7 separate regions of the Homo sapiens genome follow, and regions 1, 2, 3, 4, 5 and 6 are each linked to region 7. Evidence: promoter capture Hi-C in 16 types of primary human blood cells and fetal thymus (Javierre and others, 2016). All regions are on one chromosome and are shown on one strand. The core of a region is centred on a gene start or on the middle of the fragment in contact, and the rest is flanking DNA. Distances in the headings are between cores, read along the strand shown.

What was found. The method cuts DNA at HindIII sites, captures the fragments that hold promoters and counts their contacts. A CHiCAGO score of 5 or more calls a contact.
Region 1: a fragment that was not itself captured here is called in contact with the fragment with the promoter of SPEF2 in region 7 in 7 of 17 cell types (naive CD8 T cells, total CD8 T cells, non-activated CD4 T cells and 4 more); the score reaches 11.5 in naive CD8 T cells.
Region 2: a fragment that was not itself captured here is called in contact with the fragment with the promoter of SPEF2 in region 7 in 2 of 17 cell types (monocytes and M1 macrophages); the score reaches 6.3 in monocytes.
Region 3: a contact is called between a fragment that was not itself captured here and the fragment with the promoter of SPEF2 in region 7, in 10 of 17 cell types (non-activated CD4 T cells, activated CD4 T cells, naive CD4 T cells and 7 more). The highest score is 12.3, in non-activated CD4 T cells.
Region 4: a contact is called between a fragment that was not itself captured here and the fragment with the promoter of SPEF2 in region 7, in 1 of 17 cell types (M2 macrophages). The highest score is 5.2, in M2 macrophages.
Region 5: a fragment that was not itself captured here is called in contact with the fragment with the promoter of SPEF2 in region 7 in 1 of 17 cell types (monocytes); the score reaches 9.0 in monocytes.
Region 6: a fragment that was not itself captured here is called in contact with the fragment with the promoter of SPEF2 in region 7 in 2 of 17 cell types (monocytes and M1 macrophages); the score reaches 5.5 in monocytes.

What each region holds. Positions count from the first base shown.
Region 1 is chr5:35,900,279-35,903,908 of GRCh38, forward strand. No RefSeq gene overlaps it. Among named protein-coding and RNA genes, the nearest start is that of CAPSL, 37 kb to the right of the region's middle. The HindIII fragment of the contact is 546 bases long and covers 1,193-1,738 here.
Region 2 is chr5:35,266,040-35,269,763 of GRCh38, forward strand. No RefSeq gene overlaps it. Among named protein-coding and RNA genes, the nearest start is that of PRLR, 37 kb to the left of the region's middle. The HindIII fragment of the contact is 4,880 bases long and covers 1-3,724 here.
Region 3 is chr5:35,939,647-35,943,337 of GRCh38, forward strand. CAPSL-DT (CAPSL divergent transcript) reads left to right here. Exons shown (of 2, transcript NR_104630.1): 2 at 77-347. Among named protein-coding and RNA genes, the nearest start is that of CAPSL-DT, 2.7 kb to the left of the region's middle. The HindIII fragment of the contact is 4,433 bases long and covers 1-3,691 here.
Region 4 is chr5:35,238,467-35,242,470 of GRCh38, forward strand. No RefSeq gene overlaps it. Among named protein-coding and RNA genes, the nearest start is that of PRLR, 10 kb to the left of the region's middle. The HindIII fragment of the contact is 4,523 bases long and covers 1-3,923 here.
Region 5 is chr5:35,312,249-35,315,940 of GRCh38, forward strand. No RefSeq gene overlaps it. Among named protein-coding and RNA genes, the nearest start is that of PRLR, 84 kb to the left of the region's middle. The HindIII fragment of the contact is 4,866 bases long and covers 1-3,692 here.
Region 6 is chr5:35,120,553-35,124,471 of GRCh38, forward strand. All of the region lies in intron 1 of PRLR (prolactin receptor), which reads right to left. Among named protein-coding and RNA genes, the nearest start is that of AGXT2, 75 kb to the left of the region's middle. The HindIII fragment of the contact is 1,790 bases long and covers 1,020-2,809 here.
Region 7 is chr5:35,616,441-35,620,349 of GRCh38, forward strand. SPEF2 (sperm flagellar 2) reads left to right here and starts at 1,423. Exons shown (of 37, transcript NM_024867.4): 1 at 1,423-1,615. The coding sequence starts at 1,558. RefSeq lists an enhancer at 1,466-2,273. The HindIII fragment of the contact is 5,837 bases long and covers 1-3,909 here.

The DNA.
Region 1 (3,630 bases), core at 216-2,715, 280 kb after region 7:
CGAAACTCAATAACATTAAATGACAATCTGTCAGACTTCTGATGCTTTTGTTTTTCCTTTGAGTCATAAGCATTTCTAGGATTTAAAACTTTACCGCTTCATTCAATAGGATCTTAATTTAAAAGAACAATCAATAATCTCCAGGAAAGCAAGTCTGTTGACCAGTTTGGGAATTGGAAAATATGAGGTTCTTCATTTCTGTACTCAAAATAGATATGCATGGTCGGGAGTGGTGGCTCAAGCCTATAATCCCAGCACTGTGGGAGGCCGAGGTGGGCAAATCACCTGAGGTGAGGGATTCGAGACTAGCCTGGCCAACGTGGTAAAACCCCATCTCTCCTAAAAATACAAAAAATTAGCTGGGTATAGTGACAGGTGACTGTAATCCCAGTTACTCGGAGGCTGAGACAGGAGAATCATTTGAACCTGGGAGATGGAGATTGCAGTGAGCCGAGATGGCACCACTGCACTCCAGCCTGGGTGACACAGCGAGACTCCATATCAAAAACATAATAAATAAAAACAATAACAAAACAGATATGCATAAATCCAAAAAAGGTATACTACTCAGAGAAGGTTAATAGAATTTCATGAAGCAGAGGTAGAAGGGCCCCCACACACCATCTGTGAATACATCTGGTAAATTCTATCTCTCCACTTGATTAAACTTCAACATAGACTGCATCTGCAGGTAGTTTAGTGAGAATGGAAGTGTTACCTACTTGTACTCTCATGGCTCAGTGAGACAATCAACTTTGGCCAAGAAAATTAAAGAGCCAACACAATTATCTGCCTCCAAATACAGAGAGGGATTTTCCTTGCATTGTCTTGATAGGCTGTCTATGTCCATGAAATTGACTACGTCACTCCCCGACACAGTGCCACAGAAAGGGCTCCAACTGTCCTGACTTCAGAGGCTGAATGAGATTCTGGGAGGGGAATTTGGGTGCCTGTTCTTTCCCTCCCTCTCTACCCTCTTTGATCTCTTAACAACTGTGGGTTGTTAGTTTGGTTTGAAAGCCAATGGTTTTGCTTGCAATTATTCTAGTTCACTGCTCTGTCCCCATGGCCTAGAAAAAAAGCATGTATCTCAATAAATATTTATTGATGGGATGTATTTACACCTGCAAGCCATGATGTATGCCAAGTCAATCTGCAGCTACTTGGAGAACACCCAGCTCTGCCTTTGAAAAGCTTGATTACGGTATGAAATGTGACTCCATGCCTGCTGTCAAACCATACAGAACAAGTACATGGTCCTCCAAAGTGCCATCTGTGCCTGGGAAGATCCTATCACAGTTTAAATCACTGTGAAAACCAGCCCCACAGACCAGCAGAAAGAATTCTGCCTCAGTCTACAGTTTAGTTTGCATAGCTTCCACATTCTGGGTTTCTCATTTGCACTGTGAATAGAATCCAAGTATGATGTGCACAGCAGCAGAGAGTCAGAGTCTCTGGCCATTCTTGCATGGGTTTGCCTTTGATCAAGTTAGAAATCCAAATTCAGTATTGTTATGGGTGGTTTGTTCTGACAAACTCTCATTCTCAGAATGTTTGCATACATCATTCTTGTTTCATAAAAAGTTGCTAATTTCATTCTCTTTTCTTTGGCTTGTTTAATTTTCTATCTGAGGACCAGACCCAACAGGTGAGGTTTTCCTGAGGGATGTTTTGGCAACTTTTTATTGTGTTTTGCCTTCTGAACTAAGGGCTTATTTTTTAAATTGTAAACGGAGTAAGCTTTAAAATCTGTAAGTTAAATAAACAAAAAATATATCCAGAAGAGTGTTAGCAAATGATTTCTTTAAATGTCTCTTCTCTTTTCCTCCCACTCCTACTAGAAGGAGTAGAGCTAAATAATGCATAATTCGTGACTGTGCCAGAAGCCATAAAGGAGAATGAGAATTGGAGTGCAGTGACCCTTGACCATTAGGTTATTAGCAGATTTTGTTTCCAGAGGGTGAAAGGGCCTTGGTGGAACCTTGCTCATGGGCCCAGAACCCAAACCGCTAGAAGAGAAGCAACTAAATGTGACCAAATACACTATGAAGTATGGGTTATCTGAAATTGGATAGCTGTGCCCTGTGCCCCCATTTGACAGGAAGCAAAGTATCACTGGAGAAGACTAAGCTGATAGCTGCAACCTGGTCCTTGCTCAGAATCACATGCTCACTCTATAGCCTCAGTTAAGCTGAGGCATGAGTCATACCCAGAATCAAAGACAAGAATCTTTCTAGAGCAAAAGCCTTGAAACCCATCATCCCCAGGAAATAGGGGACCTCTCCTTAGCCACAGTCTACAAGGCACAGGCTGCAAAAATATATGGATTTTTTTCTATACATTTCTTCACAATTTCTTCTGGTTTTCTACATAAGTCTACATATTTCTTCATAACACTTGGTATCTTTGGCCTAACCAACCTCTATATGAGCAGAGATAATAAATCCAATACAAAATCAAACTTGTGCAATTGTGCAATTAAGTAAAAAAACAAAAACAAAAACAAAACTAGTTTCTGGTAATACGGGGATACACCATCCTCAAGAAAAAGTTGAGCATCTCAACAAGTTACTTAATAACTACTATAATGCCTATGTAGCAGCACTGGTTTTCACATGTTTTAAATTAATACATATCCGAATCTCAACTTCCAAGCGTATGAAATAAAACCTAAACAGTGAATTGATACAAAATATGGCAAGTGTGTTCAATCCCTAAATCCAGAGCCAATTAAGTATATAAGATCTTAAAGAAGACTATTAACCCAATCCTGTCTGCAAACTGGGGGATGAGTGCAGCTAAGGACAGAGTCAAAAGGAGGTATTTCACCCAGCAGCAAGGTGGGTGGGCATTGTCTCCAGCACCATAACCAGAGGCTGGTCACTGTGCTTTTATCTCTGGCCCTAGATACAGAAGACACAGAAGGAGAGCTGTAGTTTTCTTATCTATTTTCCAGCCTCTGGGCTATCTTTGCTTCTAGTAGCCTTTCATGGGCAGAGTCCTACACATCAACGATATGAAGCCAAAGCTTAGTGCTGGGAGGAGGAGGTGTTAAGCCATGAAGCATCAAGATGGAAAACCTGCTTTGGAATATTATTGAAATCCTAGTCCGTGTCACACCCAACCTCCTTGTGCTGGTGGGAATTTTTGTTTGTTTGTTTGTTTGTTTGAGACAGAGTCTTGCTCTAGGCTGGAGTGCAGTGCAGTGGCATGATCTGAGCTCATTGCAGCCTCTGCCTCCCGGGTTCAAGCAATTCTCATGTCTCAGCCTCTGGAGTAGCTGAGATTACAGGCATGTGCCACCATGCCCAGCTAATTTTTTTATTTTTAGTAGAGACAGGGTTTTCACCATGTTGGACAGGCTGGCCTTGAACTCCTGACCTCAGGTGATCCACCCACCTCAGCCTCCCAAAGTACTGGGATTGCAGGCGTGAGCCACTGCACCCAGCCCTTGCTGGTGGGAATTTCAACACAATTGGCAGAAAGCAGAGAGGGGAGAGATAAACATTCCACCAGGTGAAGGCTTTCTGGAATAGCCTGCCCACACACAGCGCAAGATGTCCCAGATAAAATCTGAGCGCCCAGCCCAGTTTCAAAACTTCAGCCACAGGAGTACCATGAACAGGCGTG
Region 2 (3,724 bases), core at 674-3,173, 350 kb before region 7:
TTGGGACACTGGTTTCTGAAGTGCTTTTCAGAAAATTAAACTACCCCACCCAGTGTTTTAACTAATTCACAGATGTTGCAAGCACCTGCAGAATGCTGGAGTTAGCCCTGGGCAGGGCAGACCCTACCTAAATTTACTGAAACTGGCCGAAGGGCAGAGCTGGATCGGAAAGCACAGTTCACGGCCTTAACATAGGAGAAGGGTCTGTCTATGACAGTTGAGAGACATATTTTTAAAAGGAATCATTTGGAAAGACTTGCCTGGCCATTCATCAAGGAAAGCAAGTTTTACCTGATGAGGCCTTCCAGGCTTCTCTGTGTTAAAATTATTCGTGCTGGTAAGACTGGCCATTTCCCAAGTGGGAAGAAATGCTGTTTCTTCTGATAGGCAGAAACCTCTCTGATATGCACTATCCATCTGGAAGAAGCAGTTTAAGCAAGCATATGCCTGATGTTGCTTTCTTGCCAAAACCTGCAGTGCTCAAACGAGTATCCCCTTAACATTTCATAACATTATGAATACACCCTTTCAAAGTAAGCTAACATTGATTGTGACCCTTCATATGCAAAACATTGCATGCTCTAGACTCAGTGGAAAGATTCAGGAAAAGGATCTTTCGTTCCCTCCCTAGGGAACCTCTGATTTAAAGGAGAAGGACGAATAAGTGTGTAAATAATTCTAATACAAAGAAGTTTTTGACAGGTGCTATAATAGAGGTGAAGAAACAAGATCTCACACATACATAAATCCACGCGTGAAGTATGCACACACTCACAAACACATGCACTAAGTGGGCTGTACATTTCTAAAGCAAGTCCTATTAATTCACATTATATATCCCCAGTACTTTCATTACAATTTAACTGAAGGAGAGTGTGACATATTCTTATAATGAATACCTGATTTATTTGGAGCATATTAAAGCATATTCAGGAGATTTATTTATTATTCAAGGACACCAGAGAAGTGTCATTTAAAACTCCAGAAAATTTTTATCACACATTATTGTGTTCCGTAAATTAAGATCCCACACAGTCTTTGTCAACACAGATGCAAAGTGAATGTAAGTGGGGTTAATGAATGTGAAACATTCAATGAGACATGAATAAACATGAAGTGGAACCTAATGAGGTCAGCTTGGTGGGAGCAAGGTGAATGGGGAGATATTTGGAGTTGTTTTTCAGATCCCTTGGAGTGTTCCAGGAGAGATTCTCTAAGACTGAGACATTCTCAAGAGCCTCAGCCTCACTAAGTACTCACTAAAGGCTTCTCAGTATCTCATATAGTGTATTATGTAGTGTATGTAGGGTAAGCCAATTTTACTTCTCCTCCGAAGTCTCCCAGTATACTGGGGAAATGGACCAAAGTGTACCAAAGGACAGACAAATAATGTAGGTGACAAAATCCCCAGGAGGCTAAAGGTAGGAGAGTTTTCCAAGAACAAGGAGGAGTTGGGGAGAGCAGCAGCTGGGAGAAGGTTTCTAGAAGGAGGTGGGATTTGAGTTGGGCCTTCACAACCAGGTAGGAATGAGACAGGCAGAAAGGAGGGGGCCAGCATTCCAAGCAGAGAAATACTCAGGTATTTTTCTCCAGACACCCGCAACCAACCCACATTTTGCATGTAATTTCAGGGGATATTATCAACCCCTTCTAACCACAGACCAAGGTTAGGACGCCCTGCTCTAACACTTATGAAACTGCAATAGAGCATGCTTTTTGAGCAAAATAGGATTCCTTTCTTGCTAATAGAGTAGGAAGTAACACACAATACCGAGTAGTCAAAAGAAAAACCCTCCTGCCACCTAAATTATTTAATTATAAGAGCTAATTACTCAAACACAAAAACACCTCTGTGGATGTGCCCCATTTTCTTTTCTTTCTTTATTTCATTTTTTGAGACAGGGTCTTGCTCTGTCACCTGGCTTGGAGTGCAGTGGCCTGATTATAGCTCACTGCTGCCTCAACCTCCTGGGCCTCAGGAATTCTCCTGCCTCAGCCTCCCAAGTAGCTGGCACTACAGGTGTGTGCCACTATGCCAGGCCAATTTTTTTTTTTTCTTTTTTTTTTTTTTAGAGACAGAGTCTCACTCTCTCGCCCAGGCTGGAGTGCAGTGGCATGATCTTGGCTCACTGCAAGCTCTGTCTCCCGGGTCACGCCATTCTCCTGCCTCAGCCTCCCGAGTAGCTGGGACTACAGGCACCTGCCACCACGCCTGGCTACTTTTTGTATTTTTAGTACAGACGGGATTTCACCACGTTAGCCAGGATGCTCTCGATCTCCTGACCTCTTGATCTGCCAGCCTCAGCCTCCCAAAGTGCTGGGATTACAGACCTGAGCCACCGCACCTGGCTGCCAAGCTAATTTTTAAATTTTTTTTTGTAGAGGTGGAGTCTTGCTATGTTACCCAGCTGGTCTTGATCTCCTGGGCTCAAGTGATCCTTCTGCTTCAGCTACATATCAGTCTCAAGAAACTAGTGTGACATGAGTTTCTTTAGGACCGTACTGTCTCATGCGTCCACGTGAAGAGACCACCAAACAGGCTTTGTGTGAGCAACAAGTCTGTTTATTGCACCTGGGTGCAGGCAGGCTGAGTCCAAAAAGACAGTCAGCAAGGGTGGTGGGATTATCATTAGTTCTTATAGGTTTTGGGATAAGCGGTGGAGTTAGGAGCAATGTTTTGCAGGCTGGGGGTGGATCTCACAAAGTGCGTTCTCAAGGGTGGGGAGAATTACAGAGAACCTTCTTAAGGGTGGGGGAGATTATAAAGAACCTTACAGAGAACCTTCTTAAGGGTGGGGGAGATTATAAAGAACCTTCTTAAGGGTGGCAGAGATTACAAAGTACATTGATCAGTGAGGGTGGGGCAGAGACAAATCACAATGGTGGAATGTCATCAGTTAAGGCTATTTTCACTTCTTTTGTGGATCTTCAGTTGCTTCAGGCCATGTGGATGTAAACGTGCAGGTCACAGGGGATATGATGGCTTAGCTTGGGCTCAGAGGCCTGACACATACCACATAATATTATGTAATACTACAGTTAGCAGATTCAGTGTTCATGGGACTGCATCTCCACAAAAGGACAGCCTCCATTTCCTTACAACAGAACTCTCCTTTGAGAATTCAGTATGTCACTTATCAGCACCTTGAAGATCTGGGTCACAGACCAATTGCCACCATGATGATTCATCGCCTAGAAAATGGCTACTAATAGGAAGACACTCAGTGTAGTGACAAGCAATGCAATGTGGTAAGAACAAAACCATTCTCCTCCTTCACCCCTCCCCAATCTTAGGATTCTATTAATATGAGGAACAGATAATCTCACACTCATCAAGTAAGTCAGAATCAACATGGAAAGTCTGGAGTATGCACAAGACTAGCTACTTAATTTGTGGGTCCAGTGAAGAATAAAAATACAGAGACCCTTGTTCAAAAATGATTAAGAATTTCAAGAGAGCAAGAGCAGAGCATTAAACCAAGCACAGGGCCCTTCTAAATGCAGGGTCCTATGTGATTGCCTTGGTTTTCTCTGTAAAATCAGATAATGGAACTAGCCAATCTCTAAGCAATTTTCTAATTTCAACATTCTGCCATTCTCACTATAGCTTAATTTATAGTGTAGTTCTCTACAGTCATTATATTGAAAGATAATTTTTCCTAAAGCCATTTTTCCTATCCACTGTCTACTGATATTTCTATCATGGCCACCACCATTCTCATAC
Region 3 (3,691 bases), core at 312-2,811, 320 kb after region 7:
GAATTGTCCCAGAATTAAGCAATTAGAACTGTGGTTCTTCCAGGGCAACCTCAGATGTCTAATGTTTTCTTTTCAGTGGTTTAACCCACAAGATATCACGCATTTGAAACTTTTAAGAAGAAACTTAATTTCATCTGTGAATGCAGAAGCAAATATGAGGGCATGGGCATTTAAATATGAAGTATTTCTTGAAAGCCACCTACTGGAGAGTAAGTTTGGTGCAATAATTTAAGAAAAGATAAAAAAGAAACAGGAAAATTGGGACAACGGACAGCATGATGGAGCCACCGTGCAAGCCCTCAATAGTCTGCCTCCAGGTTGTGTCAAATAAAGTAAAAAGAACAAAATCTCTGGAGTACTTAAGCAATGCTTTTGCTTGTTTCCACTGCTAGCAACTGGTGTAATTCCAAGGGTTTTACCAGTTCAAAAAACTGGATCTGGGTTTGTGGTATTGGGTTTCTGACAATCAATATAAAATATTGATTATATTTTAAGGCATAAGTACTCTTTCCAGTGGTAAAGAAGACAATGATAGTCTATGGTGTAATACGGTAAAAAGATTTGTAAAATATTACTACTGGATTCCTAATCAAATATTCATAAATGGCAAATCTCTAGGTAATCATGATAGCTTAAAATATTTTAGTCAAACTAATAAATGTAATGAGGATGACTGCTTGTAACTGTGGTAGACAAAGTAAAGAAAAATGATGAACTCAGGGCTTGAAATTCCAAGTTCAAGCTCCACATAAATGATCTGAAACCTTCTATGTCTTCCTGGAGGAACGTACTTATCTCCCATTGTCATCAGCCTGAGGTTTCAGAAAATCAAATCTGGAGTCTCATCCTGAGAGTGGCAGAATTACAGTGCAAATTGAATTCCCAACCAGGCAAAGTATCTTCTGCTAAACTGAGGGAATTGATTAGGAAGGAATGAGATTCTGAAAATCGGAATGAAACCTGTAGGGTAGATCCTGATGAAGCTGAGGACACTTAACCTCTAAATTCTCCTGCATCTTCTTTGCCAGTAGGAGCAACCCTGCTATTCATGTCTGAGAAGGTTCATCCTGATTTTTCAAAGGAAAGTGTACTAGCACCTCTGAGGTATTTTAACTGGAAGACACTGCTGATTATCCTCAGAACCTACTTCCACCAAACCTCTTGGCTTGTAGAACTATATCATCTATATCTATATCTATATCTATATCTATCTATATCTATATCTATCTATATCTATATCTATAAATAAGACTCTAGTCCCAACAGGCTTGAAAGAGAGATTAAAATTGCGAACCAATGGGAGACATACTACATTCCAAAAGTAATGCGTATTTTTTCAATTTATACAGACAGAAATCTGGTGAATACATGTGAGAATGTAAGTTAATAGTGTGAAATAATGGTAGAAGGAACATAAAGTTGACTCAAGGTGAATTTATTGATACAGGCCCACAAAGCACAAATTCTCAATATAGAGTTGCAGCTCGATGGGTTTGGTTGAGTTAAGGATGAAACAAAGGGTGGCCTACGCTAAATGAAGCTGAAATACCAGAATTACCTTGGGACACTGAAGAGGAAGGTATCTAAAGGCTTAGGGAGACTGAAATGTTGGACTGGATTTATCACGCAAGACCTGATTACTAAGGGAAATTGAGTTGCTACTACACATTGATGTAAAGAGTAAGCCTTAAAAGGAACAAAATCATGTGATTTGCAGGGACACGGATGGAGCTGGAAGCCATCCTCAGCAAACTAATGCAGGAACAGAAAACCAAATACTACATGTTCTCACTTATAAATAGGAGCTGAATAATAAGAACACATGAACACTCGGAGGGGAACAACACACACTGGGGCCTGTCACAGGGTGTGGGGAGAGGAGGGAGAGGATCAGGAAGAATAGCTAATGGATGCTGGGCTCAATACCTAGGTGATGGGAGGATCTGTGCAGCAAACCACCATGGCACACATTTACCTGTGTAACAAACCTGCACATATACCCCAGAACATAAAATAAAAGTTGGAAAAAGAGTAGCGAATACTATGTTTTCATCTTCTTTGTAGCACTTGTCACAGCTGCAATCATTTCGTTGGTTTACTGTTATAGGTCATTAAAAAGAAGAGTAAGCCTGGAATAAAGGAACTCTGTTAACACATCACTAATTATGCCCATGCCCTTTTATTAAAGTCAACAAAAAATCTACAATAACCCAATTCAGTAAGGAAAACTAATAACCCCAACTCTTCAAGAATGAATATTTGGGTCCCCTTCCCAATCAGGCAAAAAGTCAATTGCGGTACTTGCTGAGGGCAAAGGTATATGAAATACAAATGCTAGCTATCACCATATGATCAGTTGCAAAAGGATTGTAAATGTTTTGAGTATTTACCTTGTATTTTGTTATGAATTTGTGTGTGTAGAATACTATCGTATTCTTCTCACTTTATCTCCTTAAAATCTAATATATTACTTCACAGTATTTATGTTACAGAATATCAAGAATAAGAGTGAACATCACCCAAGGACCTCCACTCTGGGGAAGAGTTAGTATATTCCCAGTATGCTATAGAAGAGTTGTATAAAACTGTGTTTTTTGACATATGCCATTGTACCTAGTTATTAAATCAAAACCTAATCTATGTGTTGCTCTTATGTTATTTTTTAGACGTGATTAATATCTGCAATAAGTTTCTTTGAAGATATTCTGCCTCAGGACTGGAATATCAGTTCCCACCCAAGAGTTTCCAGCCTGCTGGCCTGCTCTACAGATTTCAGATTGCCAACTCTTAAAATTCCAAAATCATTTATGCCAATTCCTTGAAAAAAAAAGGTACCTTACTGCTCTGTTTTAATGAGGAACCCTGACTGATAGACTTTGCAAAGGAATTGGCTCTATCTTCAACAAAAACTATGGAGTGGTTCCAGCCTAAGAGAACTCAAACAGAAAAAAACAAAGAAACGGTGGACTTAGCTGTGAAAGGCAGTTGGTAGGCGATGGGTAGATTCATTGGAGATACAAGTGAAACTGTAGGGTGACTAACTTGCCAGAGGAAACTGGGAAAAGAGACAGCTGGGAGGGGCCCTTCTTAGGTCCGAAAAAAATCTCAAACATTGTCTTTAAAAACCATCTTTTTAAAGGAATCTGAATTTGGTTGGATCAACCTGTTTTATACTAGATCATTGATAAAAACAATATGGCAATCAGCCGATGATTACTAGACCTAAATCCAGGGATGGTCGGATAAAAGAAAATCACAGTCAAGCCACAACATTCTGTCCCTGCCCTCCAAAAACTCATGTCCTTATCACATACAAATACATTCATTCCAACCCTCTAATTCCAAAGTCTTAACTGGTTTCAGCATCAACTCAGTAGTCCAAAATCCAGAGTCTCATCTGTGAACCTGTAAAATCAAAATAAGGTAACAACTTCTAAGATACAATGGTGATACGGCATAAGACAGACATTCCTATTCCAAAAGTGAGAAAGAGCACCCTTCCATGCTCCCTTTCCCAACAAAAGTAACAGGCTCCAAGTAAGACCAAAACTCAGCAGGCAGACATTAAATTTTAAAGCTAGAGAATAATCTCTTTTGACTCCATGTGCCACCTCCTGGACACACTGGGCTAGGATTGAGCCCTCAAGGCCTCAGGCAATTCCACCCCTATGATTTTGCTTGGTGCAGCCCA
Region 4 (4,004 bases), core at 412-2,911, 380 kb before region 7:
CATAATCTTATTAGAAATGCAAGATCTCAGACCCCATCCCTACTTTGTGAATCAGACTTTGTATTTTTTCTTTAATTTATAAAGAACATAAATTTATTTCTCACAGTCCTGGAGACTGGGAAGTCCAAGATCAAGGTGCCAGCATTTGATCTGGTGAGAGACTTCCTGCTGCATCAGACTTTATATTTTAACAAGATCCCTAGGTAGTTCCTACGTACATTAAATTTTGAAGAGTTATTTTCTAGAGAAGTGACCTCCAAAGTTTTCTGTTTATCATCTTAGCAGTAAAATCATTTTTAGCATGCCTTTCCAAATACATATGTATTTTTAGTCATAAATTATATATATGTACTACTGTATTATAAATGAATGAAAGTAGAAATTTTAAAAGAATGAAATAAGATGAAACAAAAATTTGACCATGGAATACTACACAGCCATAAAAACCCCAAATCATGTACTTGGCAGTAAGATGGATGCAGCTGGAGGCCATTATCCTAAGCAAATTAATGCAGGAACAGAAAACCAAATACCTCATGTTCTCTATTATAAGTGGGAGCTAAACTTTGAGTATGCATGGACGTAAAGATAGGAACAATAGACAATGAGGAATTCTAGAAGGGAAGGGAAGGAGCGGGGCAAGGACTGAAAACTACCTATTCGGTACTGCGCTCATTGGATGACGTGATCATTCATACCCCAAACCTCAGTGTCATGCAATACATCCATGTAACAAACCTGCACACGTACTCCCGAATCTAAAATAAAAGTCAAAATTATTTAAAATAATAAATAAATAATTTTATTTTTAATGGTATAAACCATTTAGTTCTGAAATTATTAATTATCAAAATTTTAATGAGAATAATGTGATTAAGTATGCTTTTTTTTAAAAAAAAGATGTTGGCTTAACACTTTGAGACACAGTGATATGCAGATCTGGTTCTAAGTTTAGTTTATTTTCAGTTTTTAGTTTTACACCTATTATGGCTGAAAAATATACTGCATGAAAGGTGGTAGAAATTTTCTTTTTGTTCAGCAAAACTTACTTTTTTTTAAGTGAATGTTTTTAGGGTGTAACTTGCTATAAAATTCATACTCATTAGTGTATATCTCTAGGAGCTTTGACAAATGCAAAAAGTCACATAACCATCACAATGTAGGTGTAGAATGGTTTCATTACTCCCGCACACCCCACCGCCCCGCAGCCCGGCCCCTCAAAATACGCTCATGCTTCTGCGTAGCCAAACCCTGTCCCTACCCTGTCCCCTGGCAACCATTAATCTGTTCTCTATCCTTATAGTTTCCCTTTTCCAGGCTGCCATGTAAGTAGAATTGTACAGTATGTAGCATTCTTTCACTCAGCATCATGCATTTGAGATTTACACTTTGGGAACAATTATCGTTTTGTAAAAGGAAATGGACAACTCATTTTTAAATCCAACAACTTTTTTACTACTTCGTCATGAATTAAACAAGAAACTTCTGTGTGGTACCAGACATTTTCATACTCACTCCCTATTTTGTCAAGTTGCATATTCTAAAGGTCTTGCTTTTATAAAATAAACTGCATTGATGAAAACCTGTAGCACATAAATGGCAATCAAGCAGTGGAGGTACCATGGCAACCCCTGTGTGTTTGCTGAACTCTTTTTGATTCTGGAGATTATCTTGTGTAGTTTCCAGAACTTGTGTTGAGCTAATTTGAGAACTCAGTGAAGGCACTATTGTCAATCTAAATACCAGTAAAGATTAGTTTCTTTCTTAGAAAAAATACCCCAAATAACTACTATATTATTTTCATACTTCAACTCACTGGATCATCTTGTATACCTAGGTATGTACTTCTTTCTTGGAGAGCTTTGCTTTAGAGCCATAATTCTCAAACATAGCTGTGCATCAGAATAACATGAGGTGGCCATTAAAATGCAAATTCCAAGGCCCCATTGCAGGCCTATTCAATATGTGTCCCTGGGGAAGAAGAGCCTAGGCAATTGTATTTGATATGTTTTCCCAGAAGACTCTTATGCAGCTAGCCCAGCACTTGACGGACACAAGGGTTCAAAGGCCAGTGGTCTAGTGCTTCACAACCCAGAGCTGGATCCAGAAGCACCACCTGAGAGTTTGTTGGAAATGAGAACCAACACCTGGCTCCACCTCAGAGTCACTGGATCAGAATCTGATTTTTAACAAGAACTCCAGGTGATTACATGTATGTAAAAGTTTGAGAAGTGCTGCTCTAGTGCCAGAGTTCCTAAACCCCAAGTGACTGTAAAGTGAATGTTCTTCCTGAAGTCTCCAATTGGCACCCAGGGAAACTGACTCAAATTTATGGGCGTCTCCAACTCTAACTTGTTAGGGGAGATATAAGGGCAGGCTGATGTCACAAATTCCACTTACCAGATTGTAACACTGAAGAATCATATGACTGAGAACACACTGTCAGGTAAATTTCCAATGAGGTCTCTGATATGTAGTGAATATTCTTTGTTTTTTTTTAATTGTAATAAGAACATTTAACATGAGATCGTCCCTCTTAACAAAATTGTAAGTGTACAATACAGTACTGTTAAATATAGGCACAATGTTGTACAGCAGATCTCTAGAACTTATTCATCTTTCATAACTGAAACTTTCTACCTGTTGAACAAAATTCCCCTTTCTTTTGTCCCAACAGCCTCTGGCAATCACCATTGTACTCTCAGCTCCTGTGAGTTTGAATATTTTAGAAAACCTCATATAAATGTGATCATGCATTATTTGTCCTTCTGTGACTGGCTTATTTCACTTAGCATAAAATCCTCCAGGTTCATCCATATTGTCACATATGGCAGGATTTTCTTCTTCTTTTTTCTTTTTTCAAGGCCGAACAGTATTCCATTGTATATATATGCCACGTTTTCTTTATTCATCCATTGAGGGACATTTAGGTTGTTTCCATATCTCGGCTATTGTGAATCATGCACAAGGAACATGGGATTGTTAATATCTCTTTGAGATCCTGATGTCAATTCTTTTGGCTATATACCCAGTAGTATGATTGTGGGATCATATGGTAGTTCTATTTTTAATTTTTTAAAGAGCTTCCATACAGTTTCCCATAGCGGTCACACCAGTTTACATTCCTGTCAACATTGTACAAGCATTTCAATTAATCTACATCATCACCATTGTTATCTTTTGAATTTTTTAAATAATAGCTGTCCTAACAGATACGAGGTGATATCTCATTAGGGTGTTTATTTGCCTTTCTCTGATGATTAGTGGTGTTGAGTATCTGTTGCAAATAGTGACGATTTTACTTTTTCCTTTCTGATTTGGATGCTTTTTATTTCTTTTTCATGCCAAATTTTCTGGCTAGAACTTTTAATACTACGTTGAATAAAAGTTGTAAGAGTGGGCATCCTCATCCTGTTTTCTGATGTTAGAGAAAAATATTTCAGTTTTTCACAAATTAAGAATGATGCTAGCTTTGGGCTTTTCATATATGGCTTTTATTGTGTTGAGATGTTTTTCTTCTATTCCTAGTTTGTTGAGACTTTTTGTTATGAAAGGGTGAAGGATTTTGTCAAATGCCTTTTCTGCATCTGTTGAGATGATCATGTGATTTTCATCCTTCAGTCTGTTAATGTGGTGTATCACATCCATTGCTTTGTGAATGTTGTACCATCCTTGCATCCCAGGGATAAATTTCACTTGGTCATGGTGTATGGTCCTTTTAATATGCTGCTGAATTTGTTTCACTAGTGTTTTGTTGAGGATTTTTTCATCTATATTCATCAGGGATATTAGCCTGTAGTTTTCTTATCATTTTATCTGGCTTTGGTATAAGGGTAATGCTGGCCCCATAAAATCAGTTTAGAAGTGTTCTCTCCTCTTAGATATTTTGGAAGAGTTTGAGAAGGAAAACAATAAATAAATGAAGCTTTCACCACTGAATTTTCACCATTTGAACAGCCTCAGGTGACAAGACCCTGTGGCTGGAGGCGATTGCTTCCTTCTGG
Region 5 (3,692 bases), core at 981-3,480, 300 kb before region 7:
CTTTGTAAGAAGTACCTAACATATAATTAAGATCAAACTTTGAAACAACCTAAATTTTAAATAGTTCAAGCTCTGCAGGATAAACCCATTGAGGGCTGCTGCCTTGAGTTAGAGATCTTAGAGATTGTTAAAGGAAAGTAATCAGCATTTTTTCTTTCTTTGGTCACAGTATTTCAGGCACTGCATATGGAAATCATTAATGCATATTGGACATGTAATCTTTTGTCCTAGATGCTAATGGTTCAGCTCAGATATGTGGTCATCCTCTCTTCCTTCATCATTGACTGGTTCATTTGTGAAGAATAAATTGTGAGTAAAGAACTCTTATGGAACACAAATTACCTAAACGATTATAGTTACTGGTATCATTTTCTTTTTAATTTTATTTTTATTTTTGAGGCAGGGTCTCCCTCTGTCATCCAGGCTGGAGTGCAATGGTACAATCACAACTCACTGCAGACTCGATCTCCTGGGCTCAAGTGATCCTCCCGCCTCAGCCTCCCAAGTAGCTAGAACTGCAGGCATGCACCACCATGCTCTGCTAATTTTAATTTTGTGTAGAGTTGAGGTCTCACTATGTTGTCCAGGTTGGTCTCGAGCTCCTGACCTCAGGTGATCCACCTACCTTGGCCTTCCAAAGTGCTGGGATTATAGGCATGAGCCACTGTGCCTGGCCAATTTTTAATTTTTTAAATTGACAAATAAAAATTGGTTTATTTGTGGTGTACAACATGATGTTTTGAACTATGTATACATTGTGGAATGGCTAAATAAAGCTAATTAACACATGCATTAGCTCACATACTTATGGTTACTGACATTTTTAATCAACAACAACAAAAAAAGCATGGAAATAAGTTTTTCTTTTCTTATCTTCTTCTCCTCAGTGATACAGCCATTTATTTTCATTAGAGAATTATTTCACAAAGTTACAGGGAACTTTGCAATGAGTTAAGTATACCCAATTTTCTTTTCAGTAAATAGCATAGAATTGAAAAAGATTTCACTAGGTGACTTCTCAAGTCATCGACCTCTGCCTAAAAGCTGCTTTGACAGAAGAGGAGGTAAATTGGATTCGGTTGAGTAGAGGATTTCAAGCTAACACACAGCTCAGGGAATTAAATATTTGAGGCCCAGGGCCATGCTTCTTCTGTGGGATAGCTGAAGTCAGGCAGAACTTGGCATTGTCTGCATGTTAGGAATATATTGCAAAATTGAGGAGCAGATTTGAAACCACAAAACTCGTACTGTCAGTTTATTTAGCCACAATGAGGATTTACCAGGGAGACATGAGGGCAAATGAGTCATGCTCAGTGTTTGCCTCTCATATAAAGAGAAAAGTGGCACTGAAGGATGGTTCAGGCACTTAATTTTTTAGGTTCTAACACTCTCTGGAGGGGCAGGTGTAGAGGTTTTTCTACTTTAAATAATTAAAGCATTAAGAGGAATTTATTGAGATGAATTCATTTTAGCAGATGATACATTTAAAATGACTTCCACTGTCATTTATTTTTGTCTCAATTCCAGTTTAGCATTTTGATAAGATTTGTATCAACAAATTAATGAATTGTGGTCATGTGTATATGTTTGTGTGTCTGTGTATGACCCAATCCTTAAAGAAAAGCCTTGTGAACCAATCTCTATAGCTAACAGGACTGTGAAGTCTTTTCCAGCATATATTCTTGGAATAAAATCTTACGTGTTATTTGAGTTGGTTAAAAAAATTTCTGGCCTTGCACTTTTAGAAGACAAAAACAGTTACTTTGGGGTATGTAGATTTAAGGAAATCAATGATACAGCATGAACTTAAAATAATTTAAGATCAGGAAAGAGAGGGTATTAGTTTATCTACCGCCAGATAACAAATTTCCCCAAAATGTAATGGCTGAAAACAATACATATTTATCTTATAGTTTCTGAGTCAGGCACTATGGAGCAGCTCAGTTGGGTGTTTATGGTTCAAGGTCTCTCATGAGGTCGTGATTGAGATATTGGGCAAGACTGCACTCAAGGCTTGACTGGGCTAGAGGATCTACTTCCAAGCTCACTCATGCAGCCATTGGACTTGGACTCTTCAACTCCTCACTGGCTCCTAGCCTCAGTTGCTCTTCACACACAGGCCTCTCCATAAAGAAATTTAAGCGTCCTCACAGCATGGTAGCTAGTGTCTCCCAGCATAAGCAATCCAAGAGAAAAGGCATGAGGCAGAAGTCACAGGTCTTTCATAACTTATCTTCGGAAGTAATACACCATCATTTTTTCCATCTATTATTGGTGACATAGATCAACCATGGTAAAAAGTGGGAGGAGAAATGCACAAGTCCATGAATCCCAGGATGTAAGAATGAGTGGGGCCATGTTGCAGGCTGGCTACCACAGAGCCAATAATCTGGAGTAGCGGCCAATTTGATTTTAGTAGATGTGGATGGTCCAGTTTATTTGGCTATAGGACTGTGAGTTAAGAAATTGAAAGTCAAATTTTATTTTATTTTATATATTCTCAGTGAACACACTCATGGATTGAAAATTTATTTTGTATCTAAACCAATAGATTTATGAGTGTCATCATTCTTTTCCCCTACCTCATAGGAATGATACTGTAACAAATTGTCATACTAGTGTGTGTTGGCATTATGAAGGAAGGAGATATTTTACTATCTTTTCTTTTAAAAACTATGTGTAGAGAAAGTTCAGAGTCCCCCAATGACTTGGCGTGTACTAGCTATCAGTAATACCTGCATGCTGGTTGGTTATTTGCTCCATTTTGGATGACCTTTTCTTTACAGGTCTCTTGAGGCTTAATGAGTGTACTCCAGTAGCGTTGTGGGTTGAGTGGATTGACTGATTACGTAGTCCTTAGATTTCTTTCTGGAGATTTACTCAGTGTAGGGTGAAAGTGAACTGAACAAAATCAGATGTTGTCTTTATTTTATTTTATTTTTTTTGAGACAGAGGCTCACTCTGTTGCTCAGACTGGAGTGCAGTGGCACGATCATGGCTCATTGCAGCCTCAACCACCCAGGCCCAAGCTATCCTCCCACCACAGCCTCCTGAGGAGCTGGGACTAGAGGCATGCACCAGTATGCCCAGCTAATGTTTAAAAGTCTTTTTTAGAGAGTGGGTGTTCTCCCTCTGTTACCCTGCTGGTCTTGAACTCCTGGACTGATGTGATCCTCCCGTCTTAGTCTCAAGTGCTGGGATTACAAGCATGAGCCACTGGGCCTGCCCAGAAGATGTGGTCTTGCTCTAAGTGAAAAATCATGTCAATTGATTTTGTAGGGTCCAGAACCATTCTCATAATTCCCAGTGCTGGAACATTGCATGGATACAAATTTCAAACAATTATATATCAAAAAACATGACAAAAGTAAATAAAAAAATACAAAAGTAGGCATGAAAGACCAACCCAGGGTAGTTTATTTCATATTTTCACCTTTCACTAGTGCATGGAAACACACTTCCTGAACTGCTACTTTATTCCACATTGTCTTGGATGCGTCCAGCAAGAGACTTAGAGATCAGAGATCTACATGTGCTCATCCTCAGGGTGTCTTTCTGTCTCAACATGACAGATTTTTCAGGGCAGAGTTCAGAGGCCACCTACCGTGGATTACAGGATATCAAATCGTATCTGAGGCCTCCTCTACCTGCCCCCCGACCCCCAAGCACCCTCCTTTTCCCTTTGTTTAGGC
Region 6 (3,919 bases), core at 665-3,164, 500 kb before region 7:
TGGGGTGGGGAGACATAATTTAATAGAAGCTCCTGGGGGAAATAACTCACAGATTTCATCTTTTATATACTTGAGTATTGTGTGTCAGTCAAAGACCAACCTGATCTCTGGTCACATTATTTGAAGTATGGCATCCAGAACAGGGGAGGTGATAGTACTACTTAGTTCTGTGAATTCTACATTAGCTCCCACTTGGAGTACTGTGCTCATTTCCCTGCTCCTCACTTTAGGAAAAAGCATGTTGTTTATCTCCAAATTCTGTCACATAAAGCAGAAGTTGAGAGAGTTTTTCTTCAAGAGCCAAATAGTAAATATTTTCAGCTTTGTAGGCTGAAATGTTCCAAGTACTCTGTTACTGTAGTACAAAAGCAGCCGTAGACAACATGTACATGAATAAGCTTGGCTGTGTTCCAATAAAACTTTATTTATATAAATAAACAGGCTGGATCTGGCCTGCAGGCATTACTTTGCTGACCTCTGATAGAAGAGTGCAAAATGAATTTATTCTAGAGGTGCCCAGAAGGCAGAAGTTTGATCAATGTGTAAAAACCATGGGGGGGTAGATTTGTGCTAATTTTAAGATCATTCTAGTGGTGACTACTGTTCCCAAAGAGAATCATCTGTTTCATAAGTCAGTGAGTTTCTTGTCATTATAGGGGTTCAAAGCAAAGGCTGAGTGTTTTAGAAGAATTTTCTGCAGAGCATGGAGAGTAAGTTGGATGATGTGGGAGGTAACACTGCCTCACATTTCTGTATCTTCAGCATGGTACAGTGCACACATAGTAAATCTTCTCAGTTCTACGTTCCTAGAGGGAAGGGGCTGTGTCATATCCATCCTTGCATCCCACCCCCTCCTGAAAGCCTAGTATAGTGCTTTAAATATGGTGGGTGTGACCAATACATTTTTTTTGTCAGCCTGACTCTTTAAATCAAATCTTGCTGACAGACTAATTGTACTAATTTGTCTTTAGTACAATCATCACTACCAGCCATATTAAATAATTCAATTACCTCTGATAAGCTTCAACATTTGAGGACTTTCACCGAAAATAATACACAACATTTACTAAGTTCTTAAAATATGCCAGCTATCATGCTAAGAACCTTACAGGCATTATCTTATTTAATGCTCCCCAAAATCTATGAGGTAGGCACTATTATTACCCCTACTTTATTGATGAAGAAACTGAAATTCAGAGAAGACTCATAGCTAAGAAGTTGCATATCCAAAACTTGAACCGAGATCTCTTTGATGCCAAAGGCTGTGCTCCAACCACAATTCCATTCTGCTTCTGGGTCATTCATTTATTCTTTCATTCACTCAGTATTCAACCAATAACAATTGGTTGCCTACTATTTGCCAAATAGTATTTTAGGTGCTGATGATAGAGCTGTGGATATAAACAGGTCAAGTCCATGCTCTGAAGAAACTTACATTCTGGGTGGAATAAAGTGGGAGTTGATACACAATTAACAAATGAGAAAATAATACATGGTAATTCATCACAAGACATGAGGAGATTAAAAAGACAATAAATATTTCTTGTCACACTAGAATCACAGATATCATCCTAATTGATGAATTTAGCAAGACATGGAGATTAAAAAGATAATAAATACTTCTTGTCCACACCAGAACCACAGGTATAAACCTAATTGATGAATTTACTGAAGTTCTTTCTTGTTTTTTTTTCTTCAACTTTTAAGTCCTGGGGTACATGCTCAGGGTGTGCAGGTTTGTTACATAGGTAAACATGTGCCATGGTGGTTTGCGCACAGATCAACCCATCACCCAGGTATTAAGCCCAACATCCATTAGCTATTCTTCCCGATGCTCTCCCTCCCCACGCCCTGATAGGCCCCAATATGTGTTGTTCCCCCAACCTCCTGCCCTATGTGTCCATGTGTTCTCATCGTTCAGCTCCCACTTATAAGTGAGAACATGCGGTGTTTGGTTTTCTGTTCCTGAGCTCTTTCTTGTTTACTGACATTAGCCCAAGGTTAGTCTTTTGTCCTGACAAATTGTCAGATAAACTGACGTTAGGCCAATGTTAGTCTTTAGTCCTGACAAATTGTCAGATAAACTCAGATTCAGAAAGAAATCTGCAAGATTTCTGGCAATTGATAGAGATTACATATGGCAATTTATAGACATGCATGTGGAGCTCTTGAATGAAAAGGAAGTTTATCCAATAAAGCACTTGGGAATCACTCTTTTGGGGCAGGCTGAACTTGAGCAGAAGCAAGCACATCCACTTGAGTCAAAGGCATGGGCCTTGTTTAGGAGTAGAGGTACCAGGGTGGCTGAGAGTGGAGGAACCAAAGGGGAATTACAAAATCTTGATTGAGATTGAGATGGAGACAGAGGGAGCAAGATAAATAGGGTAAAGTCAAGTCAACTGTCAGGTCCAATTGGCAAGTGTTGACTGGGAATGGGAGACAGTGCCCAAAGGTCAGGGGTGGAGTAAACACAAGCCCAGATGAGGAAGCGAAAGAATCCAATATTTTGTTTGTGTCTTGATGGGTGCCAACTACAAGGGGTAGGTGTGGGTGGCCTAGTTACAGGTGAAGGATAGGAATTGACAAATAGTAGTAATCCTTTTGCAATTCCAGAATTCCTTTCGTTAGTGGATTGTAAAGTGATTTTCAGAGTAGAGACTCCTGACAGCATCAGCATAATCTTACTTTTAAAAATGGCTAAAAAACAGAAAGACAGCAATTAGTTAACATTTATTGGCTGCCAGACATTGTTTCTAAACACTTTAATGCTTTATTTCATTTAATCTTCATAAGTACACTTTGAGAACCAAGCTTCTTAATAGGGAGCTAATTAAAGAATGACTAAAAACATAAGTGACATTTGGAGGGAACTTGTATAATGTCATCATTGAAAATGAGTCCTAGTTATTCATGTACTGATTTGTCCACTCACATATTTATTCAGCCTATAATAATTGGGCACCTAATACATGTTGGGTGCTATTCTAGGGCCTTTGCCTGGATGATGTTATTGATTTCATTGTTTAACAGAGAGACAGTGGAGGGAGCAAGGGATTTTGAGTCAGAAAATCTAAGTTCTGTTTCTAACTCTAACTGGTCCCGTGGTCCTTGGAAAAGTCAGGCTGCTTCTCTCTTTAATGTGTTCTGATGTAAAACAAGGAGCTAAGCTGCTTGAGGTCTTTTAGAATTTACTGTTAAAGTATTCAGTAGCTTTATAGTACATTGACGCTTATAATAAATACTCACTTATAGTCTGTCATTCTACCCTCCCACCCCCATCAGGGAAATCATAGTATTTATGAGGCTTTAAACGTGGAAACTTGTCAGGGATTGGACCAAGTTCCTCTGCTCTTTTCACTGAATTCCTCTGCCTTCCATGTAGGAATTTGTGTTTAATTTCTGAAAGAATTATAACAGAGCTGGGGGAAGATGTCAGAGGAAAAGGGAAAGATATAGATGATATAGAAGACAAGGAGAAGTTAAGACTGGGAAGGACAATGTACTAGCTCTCAGGAGCTTTGTGCTCTGTCTCTGAAATCATTCAGGGCTGCTATAGTCATCAAAAAAATGTATCCAAAGGCACAAGAAGAGAGACCTTCCAACTGGTGGAAATTACATTAAGGCAAATTTGGGTTCAGTAAAATGGTAGAGGAGTTCTTTACCGGACATTCCGATTGCCCATGGCTGGGCAGAGCTAAAACAAATGGGTCATATTACAAGGCAAAGTAGCTTTTTAATTTTAAGGCCCACCAGTCAATAGATTGCTACGGCCAAGGATGAAATGGGCCACTCTGGTAGGAGGTGAGCTCCTCCTCATGGTGCATGCTTATGCTGAGACAACGTAAAATCCTAGAGGGGTTAGCAACTTGGATCAGGGCTACAAGACCAGAAAAGGGACTTTCAACTCCGAAATGCTATG
Region 7 (3,909 bases), core at 173-2,672:
TTATTAAAAAGACAAAAAACAACAGATGCTGGAGAAGATGTGGAGAAAAGGGAACTCATACTGTTGGTGGGGATGTAAATTAGTATGACCACTATGGAAGGCAGTATGGAGGTTTCTCAAAAAACTAAAAACAGAACTGCCATAAAATCCAGCAGTTCCACTACAGTGTATCTATCCAAAGGAAAAGAAGTCAGTATATCAAAGGGATACCTGCACTCACATGTTTATCACAGAACTATTCAAAATAGCCAAGATATGGAATAAATCTAAGTGTCCATCAGCGAACAAATGGAAAAAGAAAGAATGGTATATATACATAACGGAATACCATTTGTCCATGGAAAAGAATGAAAACAGGTCATTTGCAGCAACATGGATGAACTGGAGGCCATTATGTTCAATGAAATAGGCCAGGCAACAGAAAGACAAATACTGCATGTTTTACTCATATGTGGTAGCTAAAAAAGTTGATCCCCTGGAGATAGAGAACAAAATTATGAGTACCAGAGACTGGAAAGGATGTGAGGGTGGGAAGGGGAAATGAAGAGAGGTTGGTGAATGGGTACAAACTTATAGTTAGATGGAAGAAATAGGGTCTAATGTTAGCTAGCAACTGGGGTGACTATAGTTAGCAATGATACATTGTATATTTCAAAATAGCTAGAAGAGAAGATTTGAAATGTTACCAACGTATATAAATGATAAATACTCAAGGTGATGGATACCCCAAATACCCTTCTTCTTTTTCTTCCTCTTCTTTTTTCTTCTTCTTCCTCTTCTTTGATCTCTCCTTGTTCTCCTCCTTCTCCTTGTTCTCCTTCTTCTCCTTCTCTTTCTTCTTTTCCTCCTGTTCTTCCTCTTCTCCTCCTCCTCTTCCTCTCCCTCTCCTTCTCCTTCTTGTTATTCTTTCTTCTTTCTTCTTCTTTTTTGAGACAGAGTCTCATTTTGTTGCCCAGGCTGGAGTGCAGTGGCTCGATCTCGGTTCACTGTAAACTCCGCCTCCTGGGTTGATCCTTCCACGTCAGCATCCTGAGCTGGTGGGACCACAGGCGCACGCCACCACGGCCGCCTAATTTCTTACAGAAAAAAAAACGGTTTCTGCTACCTTGCCCAGGCTGGTCTTGAACTCCCAGGCTCAGTCGAGCGCCACCCCCTCCACAAAGTGGTAGGATTATTTGCGTGAGCCACGGAGCCCTGCGGAGACTCTGGTTTTACTTTCTGCTCACCTAAGAAGCTCCTGCTGTGTCCCTAAGTGTTCCCGCCTCGCCTCTCCCCACACCCACTGCTCCCTAACTTCTCTCACAGGCCCCCAACGGCTTCCTCCTGCGCTGGCGCACGCTCAGGTCTTACCCGCCAGCAGGTGGCGAAACACGATTTTCTGTCCTCTGCGGCTGAGCCCTAGCGTCCCCTCTTCTCTAAGGCCTTTCGCCTAGTTCCAGCCTGGATACGCTTCCATAGCAAAGGGTTGCCCTTGGCTACAGGAGGACGCGGGCTGGCAGGCTTGGTTCCTGGCGAGTTTCTAAGCCCCCGCCTGCGGTCTGAGGCACCGGCTGAACCATGTCGGAGATCCTGTGCCAGTGGCTCAACAAGGAGTTGAAGGTGTCCCGGACCGTGAGTGAGTGACCACGGCCAGGGGCGAGCGTCTGAGGGGCTAGCGGGGCGCAGAGCCTGCAGCGCAGCGCAGCGCACTCAGGGAAGGTGGCGGGCAGGGCGCGAGCTGCACAGGTGGGGCACCTGCGTAGCCGGCAGCATCCCACAGTGAGCAACTCGGCTCGGCGGTGCCCCAGGTCCGTCCCGCCACCTCCCTACAGCTCACCCCAGCCAGGGCAAGGCCTTGTCACGTCCCCACTCTGCCGCTCTCGAGTTACCCTTGTCACGGTGGGCCCAACCCGCAGGCATTCTGACTTTGTGATGTGGTTCTAGGCAATCAGAGGGTTTAGGAAGGTCTCCTTTGCTTCTGTGGAGAGGGAACTTTGCTGGACTTTGTAGTCTGACCCCAACGATGCCTCCTTCACATCACCAGAAGCAGAAGCATGGTGTGGTGGCTAGTCGATGAAATATGAAGCCACTGGACAAGTTACAATACCTTCTCTGAATGTGTTTCCTTCTCTATAAAATGGACCTAATAATGCTTTCCATACTTAACTGACCAGCAGGGGAGGGTGGGTGAAAAATAAGTTAATGTAGAATATGTTAACATTTACAAATTTTAGTAAATTTTAAGCCCCAAATCACAAACTAGCTATTTCTGGTCACTATTGGCTCTTGCCCAAAGCTGACCTTATTCACCAACCTAATTTTATCCTAACCATGCAGTTGCCACCCAAAGTTTCCAAGTCTGACAACCACAGAGACAATTTTACATGCTGGCAGCTTCCTTGACTGCCCTGTAATTCTTCAGGAGTTCATTTTTCAGTTGGTTTTGTTTGTCTTTTTTTCTTTTTTTGCTTAAGGGAAGAGGTTTTCAGGGCAAGTCATTTCAGTCCATTTTCCCAGAAGAACTTGCTTAACACCAGCTTGCTACCAGAGAGGCAGTGGTGCCAGTTCAACCTTAGCTTATCTACAGAAGTTGCTAGATCGGTAGTGTTTCTGTGGGTGCAAAGTAGTTATTAATACTCTCAGCATGAGGATCTTTAGCACGGAGCATCTCCTGTTGCATTTCTTGAGGCATAAACCTCAGACTCTTTCTTTGTCAAATAACCATCTACACACTCCCTGTGAACTGCAATAAATTCTTTCCTGGTATTCTACGATTATCCCATTGTGTCTCCAACTGTTTATTTGCTAAAATATGATGGACTGAGGACAATATTTAGCATTTATTGTTTCTTATTCCTGTCTCACCATAGGAGCCAAAATAAAATATCATGCCCTTAAGTTGTACTCTTCTAAAAGAAAAGCAGTTACATATTGCTTAGTTTAATTTAGTTCATTTATTTTATTAGTAAAAACCACACCCGGGCCGGGTGCGGTGGCTCACGCCTGTAATGCCAGCCCTTTGGGAGGCCGAGGTGGGCAGATCATGAGGTCAGGAGTTCGAGACCAGCCTGGCCAACATAGTGAAATCCTGTCTCTACTAAAAATACATTAGCCGGACGTCGTGGCGGGTGCCTGTAGTCCCAGCTACTTGGGAGGCTGAGGCAGGAGAATCGCTTGAACCCAGGAGGCAGAGATTGCAGTGAGCCGAGATCGCGCCACTGCACTCCAGTCTGGGCAACACAGAAAGACTCTGTCTCAAAAAACAAACAAAAAACAAAACAAACAAACAAACAAAAAACACCCTTTGCTGAAGTCCCCAGGACTCTATTGCAACATTTTGAAATACTTTTAGGAGAAATAAATGAAATTAATAAAGATACATAAAATAAAAACAGTAGATGCCATTATAATTTTAATTAGTTTTGGGAATTTAGGTTTTGAGAGGTGGAGGATAAACATAAAAGGGCTGAAGACTAAGTAAGAATTTTAACAACATTTAGGCTATGGATAGAAAATTCCTGGCGTCTGTGCTCCTGAAGTGTAGATCTGGAAGCTAGCAGAGATGCCCCGTTCTAATGGAGTATTCTGCTTTCCATTCACTAGCAAAACGTATTAATTTTTTAATCTCAACTACTATAAGAGAGATAGAGCGAGAGAGTCCTTGAGGAGGTAACCAGATTCCACATTGTAAAAGGTCTTTGGGAACACACTTAACTGTGTTTGTAAGCCAACAAGCTAGGATTTGTGCACTCAAGGAAGCACATTTCCTGCTGCTGCTGCCCCATCATTAGATAAACTGTTGTGTGGTGCACAATGGAAGGCTTTGGATGGTTTGTAGAATCTATCATGGAAGGACTGTGAGTGGGTGCAACCTCTGGGGAAAGTAATCAGGCAATTTCTGGGTAAGGGAAGTGTAAAAAGCAAGAACTT